2 separate regions of the Homo sapiens genome follow, and region 1 is linked to region 2. The links are contacts of gene promoters, found by promoter capture Hi-C in blood cells and fetal thymus (Javierre and others, 2016). All regions are on one chromosome and are shown on one strand. Each heading gives the region's core, a stretch centred on a gene start or on the middle of the fragment in contact. The rest is flanking DNA. Distances are from core to core; before and after follow the strand shown.

The links. Contacts are between HindIII fragments. The CHiCAGO score rates a contact against its expected background, and 5 or more counts as called.
Region 1: a fragment that was not itself captured here is called in contact with the fragment with the promoter of PLCB2 in region 2 in 2 of 17 cell types (fetal thymus and activated CD4 T cells); the score reaches 5.4 in fetal thymus.

Annotation. Positions count from the first base shown.
Region 1 is chr15:39,935,698-39,938,966 of GRCh38, reverse strand. All of the region lies in intron 1 of EIF2AK4 (eukaryotic translation initiation factor 2 alpha kinase 4), which reads right to left. Among named protein-coding and RNA genes, the nearest start is that of EIF2AK4, 3.2 kb to the right of the region's middle. The HindIII fragment of the contact is 2,037 bases long and covers 856-2,892 here.
Region 2 is chr15:40,306,121-40,309,248 of GRCh38, reverse strand. It overlaps PLCB2 (phospholipase C beta 2), which reads left to right and starts at 1,314. Exons shown (of 32, transcript NM_004573.3): 1 at 1,314-1,660. The coding sequence starts at 1,577. The HindIII fragment of the contact is 15,701 bases long and covers 1-3,128 here.

The sequences.
Region 1 (3,269 bases), core at 625-3,124, 370 kb after region 2:
GCATATGTTTTCAATCAACTACTTTTCACCAAATCGCAAAATACCCTTGTTCTTCAATTTAGATACACTTTTTCCAAAGTGGATTTGAAGTAGTTCATATTATATGTATATAATGAACAAGGGGAGTCTGAGAGAAAAAACAATGGCTGAGCGCTCCCATGGTCCAGGCACCTTACCAACTTTGCAAGGCAGGTGTCATCTCCATTTTACAGATACAGAAGCTCAGGCTCAGGGAGTTTTACATTCTTGCCTACAGATACACAGGGACAGAGCTGGGATTCAAACCCAGCCTTAACTCCAAACCCTGTCTCCTCCCATAAGCCACTCTTTTATTATGCCATCCTAAGTTGCTGGGATTGAGCCTTGATTTTTTTCTCTGAATGTCCTGGCAGGCAGGGCAAAAAGAGAAACGTGGTATCATCAGAAAAGAGAAAGCCTAAAAATTATTTTAGGGAAGCAAAGTACTTATAATACTAAATTCTAACAGAAATTTATAACGTGAACCTTACAAGGAGTACCATATAATAAACACTGTACTCTTCTACTATGTGTACAAAATTTGTAAGATCAGTTCTTATATGGCTTTATAATAATCCTTGATAAATGTGTGGGTCCTTCCATAAAGCATAATTCTGCGAATGTGGTCTGGGGAAGGGTTAAGCACTCTTTGGTCCACAGGTCTTTCATCCACTCATTCACCCATCACACATCCATCACCCATATTTGCTAAGCACTGACTCTGTGTCAGGCACTGTGCTTAGTCCACGGAGGTGAGAACACAGATATGGTTCCAGCTCTCATGGAACTTCAGTCTGGTGGGGGAAAACAAACATAATAAACACATAAGTACAAGCTTAGAGAGTGCCGTTGAAGAGATGACGTGGTGCTCTCCTTAACAAACGACTTGGGGTGTGAGGGTATATACTTAAATGTGGTTATCAAAGAAGAACTATCTGAGGATGTAGCATTGAAGCTGAGACAAGCCAAGAGACCAAGCATTCCAGGCAAGGAAAAAAAGAGACTTGAAATACATTTGAGAATTATTTCATTCAGTAACAATTTTTGAAAGTTTTTTGTTTGTTTTACCAGGCACTGGGCTTGTAGGAATGGCATTTCAAATGAGTGGAAGACACTGAAAAATTCAATTGCCTATATTTGTCTAGCTGCCTAGCTGGAGGAGGAGGGATGCACACGGGGAGGTGGCCTAGGCCCGTACTTTGATGGAACGAAGAACTTAAAAAAAAAAACCTACTTATATCTTTATTTGATGAAAATTTAAAAACGAAGTCATGAACAAGTTAAAAGTAAACTTTGACGAATTTGGTTTTTAGTAACATTGGAACAGAGGGGGAAAAAAAACCCACAGGGACCATAAAAGAAAAAAAAGGTCATTTTGACTCTATCAACATTTTTTAAATCACATAAATTACGTAAATAAATGCATATAATTAGGAGAAAAATATATGCATTATATGACCCAAAATGCTAGTTTTCTTAAGATATTTAGCTCTTACAAATAAACAAGAAAATGGACCACAGAGTAGAAAAATAAACCAGAGTATGAGCAGTTCACAGAAAAAGAAAAATCAATGGTTTGTAAACAAAGGTGTTCTAGATAATTTATAAATAAATAAAAATTAAAATGAGATATGTTTCATTTATGTGGCAAAGATGAAAAAGTCTAACATATATAGTATTGTTGAAGATAAAGGAAAACAAACACCACCATACACTACTGGGGGATCCAGGGATTGAAGCAAGTTTTTTGGAGGGATGTTTCCAAAAGCTATCAAATTATAAATGAGCAGACCTTTTGCTGCTGTGGAAAGCTAGCCAAAATAAGTTAGTAATTTGTAACTATCTATAAATTATAGATACTTTAAACTAGCAGTGTCTAAACTTTTTACAAATGCAAAAGTTTTTAGCATGCACCTCAAAATGTTATTTATAAATGATATACATATGCTACTAAACTGAAATTTATATTACAACACATCCCCACTAAAAGAAGTTGAAAAAAAAATCTAACCTGAATTTATTGGCAGCAAATTTAGCCTGAACTGACATGAGGTTAGTTATAGTGTTTATTTGTTCAGTGTGAAATTTGAGTATTTCTATGTTTCATTGTGTTTGATTTTCGATGCTGCCCCAGACACTGAGGAAGGTATTAGGTAATGTGTGGAATGTGCACACATAAACGTGAACAGAAGCACTTCTGAATTCTGAAACCCATCAAGTCTCAAGAGTTTTGGATAAAAGGCTGGGCACGGTGGCTCACACCTGTAATCCCAGGACTTTGGGAGGCGAGGCGGGAGGACTTGAGGTCAGGAATTCGAGACCAGCCTGGCCAACATAATGAAACTCCATCTCTACTAAAAATACAAAAATTAGCCAGGTGTGGAGGCGGGTACCTGTAATCCCAGCTGCTCAGGAGGCTGAGGCACAAGAATCGCTTGAACCTGGGAGGTGGAGGTTGCAGTGAGCCGAGATTGCTCCACCGCACTCCAGCCCGGGCGACAGAGAGAAACTCCCTCTCAATAAAGAGTTTTGGATAAAGGATTTTGGACCTGCATCACTTTTCCCTGGCAAATAGCAGGTGATAATAAGTGCTTGTTGAATGACTAAACTCTGATTCATCCTTGAGACCATCAATTATTTGCCTGCCAGTCCTATGAATGTGTTGAGGCCATTTGCCCGGTGTACAATAGGCCACAGACAGCTATTTAAATTCTTCTGCCTGCCTTCTATAGTTTTTGCTTTGGTTTGTCTAGTATTCCATCTTGTTATGAAAGCCACCAGCTATAAATTCTTGAGGTTATCAATATCCCTACCTAAAAGAAGTTGCTTTTTCTCTTCCATTTTTCTGCAGCCCTAGGAGCAGACAACTAAGCTTGTATAAAGTAAACAAACTAGTTCAGAATGAAGCCTTAGGAGCTTTGTGTTGAGTCCCATGTACACTTTGAGACACCTATTTTGGCTGCTTCTTGGGCCTACTTCCTGATTCTCAAGGTTTGGGAAGATAGAAGTTCCCCAGTCACCAACTTCTCTGTCATGTTAAGGGGAATAATTTATATTTTTACCATTTCAGGTTAAAAATAACTTCATATTATTAAGCATTAGAAAAGTAAGCTCCCTGAGGGCAAGGATTTTTGTCTGTTTTGCCCACAGCTGTATTCCTAATGCCTAAAACAAATATTTAATGAAGGAAGAAGCACCCTGAGTTTGAGAGAGAATATTTTGTCCTGATAGCTCCAGAAGATGGTATTTCT
Region 2 (3,128 bases), core at 65-2,564:
CTCACCCTCCACCCTGCCCTGGACCAGACCTCCAGCCGCGACAATTCTAGGGCCTGGGTGAGGGTCTTACCGTTGTTGGGGGTATGCAAAGCCCCATGGGGGGGTGACCCAGGGCAAAAGGCCAGGCCCCAGAGGGGAAGGAAGTCTTGGGTAGAGCTCCCTGCCTCCCAGGCTGGGCTAAGAAGGGCGATAAGAGGAGCAGATTAGGCAAGAGGAAGTGGGCTGGGCTGAGCTGGACTGGTGCTGAACTCCCTGGGCCTGGGGCAGAGTGTGGGTCAGGCACCTGAGCAGCTGGGGCTGAGCCTGGCCAACCAGAGCAGCCATCCCTCCGCCCCAGCCCCGCTGCAGGCTGGGGTACACAGCAGAGGCGGGCACACGGAGGAGAGAGGAGAGCGCAGTGGAGGCAGGGGCTAGGGCTGCTCAGTGGGGGTCCAGGCCTCAGGCAGTCCCAGAGGCCCAGAGGTGGGAGTCTGGTGAGGTGGGTGAGGGGAGTGATTGCCTTGCCTCATGTGCCCCTCATTTTCTTTCTTTTTTTATTTTTTTCGAGATGGAGTCTTGCTCTGTCGCCCAGGCTGGAGTGCAGTGGCGCCATCTCGGCTCATTGCAAGCTCCGCCTCCTGGGTTCATGCCATTCTCCTGCCTCAGCCTCCCGAGTAGCTGGGACTACAGGCGCCGCTGCCACGCCCAGCTAATTTTTTGCATTTTTAGTAGAGACAGGGTTTCACCGTGTTAGCCAGGATGGTCTCGATCTCCTGACCTCGTGATCCGCCCGCCTCGGCCTCCCAAAGTGCTAGGATTACAGGCGTGAGCCACCGCACCCGCCCGCCCGGCAGGTGCACCTCATTTTCATGGGGGAGGAAGCATTGAGAAAGAGGAGCCGTGTGTTCAGCAAACTTTGCTTATTCAAAACACTCCATTCCAGCTGGGCCCTGTCCCCACCCCACCCCTGCCTCTACGGTGCTCCCAACCTTTGGGGTCAGATGCCCATGCTCTGGACCCTTCCCCTGAGGAGGTCCTTTCTCCTAGTGAGCTCCCTGTGCCTTCCCTCAGTCCAGGCCTGGGCAGCAGTCTCCCCAGCTGGTCTCCATGTCGTCCTTCTCCAGCCCTCCTGGGCCAAATCTGACCAGAGACCACCACAGGGACTGAGAGGCCCTGGCTCCAAGGCGACCCGGCCTCATGACCACGTCTCCGCTGTGAGCAGCGCAGAGAAGGAAGCCCAGAGCAGGAAGTGCTGAGAGGCACAGGGTGGGGCTGGGGGTGGGGGCGGGGGCCTCCAGAAGAGGCGGGGGCTTCCTGCTTCAGCCTCCTTGGGCAGAAGCAGTGACCACAGGCCCCCATGGCAGGCAGGGCGGGTGGGAGGAGGGTGATTTACAAGGCAGATGGGCCTCTGGCTACAGCTCAGTCCTGCACTCAGCCAGGGCCACCCCAGGGGCTATAAGAGCAACTAGATTTCTGGAGCAGCTCGGGGATGGGTGCCATTTGAGCCCAGCTTGGCTCCCCCTCCTGGCTGGCCTCCTTCCTGCCCTTCTGCCTGCCTGTGTCTGCTGAGATTCTGCAAAGAGGAACGCTTGGCACCATGTCTCTGCTCAACCCTGTCCTGCTGCCCCCCAAGGTGAAGGCCTATCTGAGCCAAGGGGAGCGCTTCATCAAATGGGATGATGTAAGTGGGGCAGGGGCCTCAGCTGCTGGAGCACCAGGTGGTGGGGGCCGGGCTGCTACGGGGCTTTGCTTGGGTGGGAGGATTGGTTTATGTCTCCTAGGATCCAGGCGCCTGTGTGGTTTGGCCAGGCAGCTGACACCACTGCTTGGATAAACAAACCTGGGATTAAGGGTGTATGTCCCCAGCTAAAGGGCTAAGCCTTGGTTCTAGGTGTGAGAAGTGGGTGAGCTGCCTGGGTGGTCACTGGAGGTAGTTTATTTGGGTCTGCTTCTCTTCTCCTTCAAACCCCCAAGAGAAGAGGAGGAAAGTGCACCCCAGAGCTGAGGCAGGCTAGGAGGAGAGGTGAGCTCGTCCCCGCTCCCAGCACAGATGTCTTGCCCTTGCTCCGGCAGGGCGCTCAGACCCAGCTCCTTCACCCCCTCCACTGGGCATCATCCTGTCCAGGGAAGCCTTGCTCTCCCCTGCGCTGCTGTGGGGGCAGCCACAAAAGGCCCCTGGACCTAAGTGAGAACTAGAGGCTTCTGCTCCCAGGGAAGGAGCTGATTTGACTTCTGCTACCCCTTGCTGGGCTCAGCATTGCTCCCCGATGCAGGCCTGTCAGCAAGGGAAGGGGAAGACACTGCTGCACCCTGCAGCCCTCTCTCTGCTGTGTCTGTTCCTTCCTACACGGGGCTGCTCCCAGGCTCTGGTTCTCCTGGCCCCTGAAAATGTTACCTTAGGCCAGGGATTCTCTTAGGCTGGAGAGAACAATATGGAGATTCTCCTTCAGGGAGGGGAGGCTGCTGGGCTCGCCCAGTCTGAGAGTTAGAGTGCTGGGCTTGTCCCAGGAAGGGAAATGAAGGCTTGGTGGGGGAGGGAAGACAGCCCTTAGTGCTGACTTGTCCACCTGATGGGAGGTGGGATGAGGGGGTCTGGGTCTAGGCCCTTCGGGGCTGGGCTAGGCTAGGGGATCTCGCTGCCCATGACTATGGGTTGGGGCCCTGTGGTGAGATGCTTCCTGCTTCCCTAGGAGTGATGTGGGGTTGGTGTAGCATGGCAGTGGCATGGAGGTGACATGCCCCAGGAGCCTGTGGAATGAGGGAAGTGGCTCAGAATGAAAAGCGAAGTGGCCTCTCTCAGTTCCTCTGGGCAGTGTGTGTAACCTGACTGGGCAGAGGGTCACAGGGTGGCAGTGGAGGTCGGGGGTTGGTGGCCAGCGGAGACTGTCCTTCTTCCTAAGCTGGCACCTGTGTACCTGGCTGTTCCCTTCCCCTCTCCAAGGTAGGGCATTGGATGTTCTCTGGATCCTGACCTGCACAAGCAAGAATGTCCCAAGCCTATCCACAGGTCCATGCTGCTGTGAGACAGGGCTCTGCTTTCAGGCTGCTTTTGGCACAGTTAGTGGATGGCATGGGTGTGCTGTGCCATGTTGAATAAGCAGAATACATAGGATGTAAGCAAATCCCAACTTTATTTCATCTCCCATGGC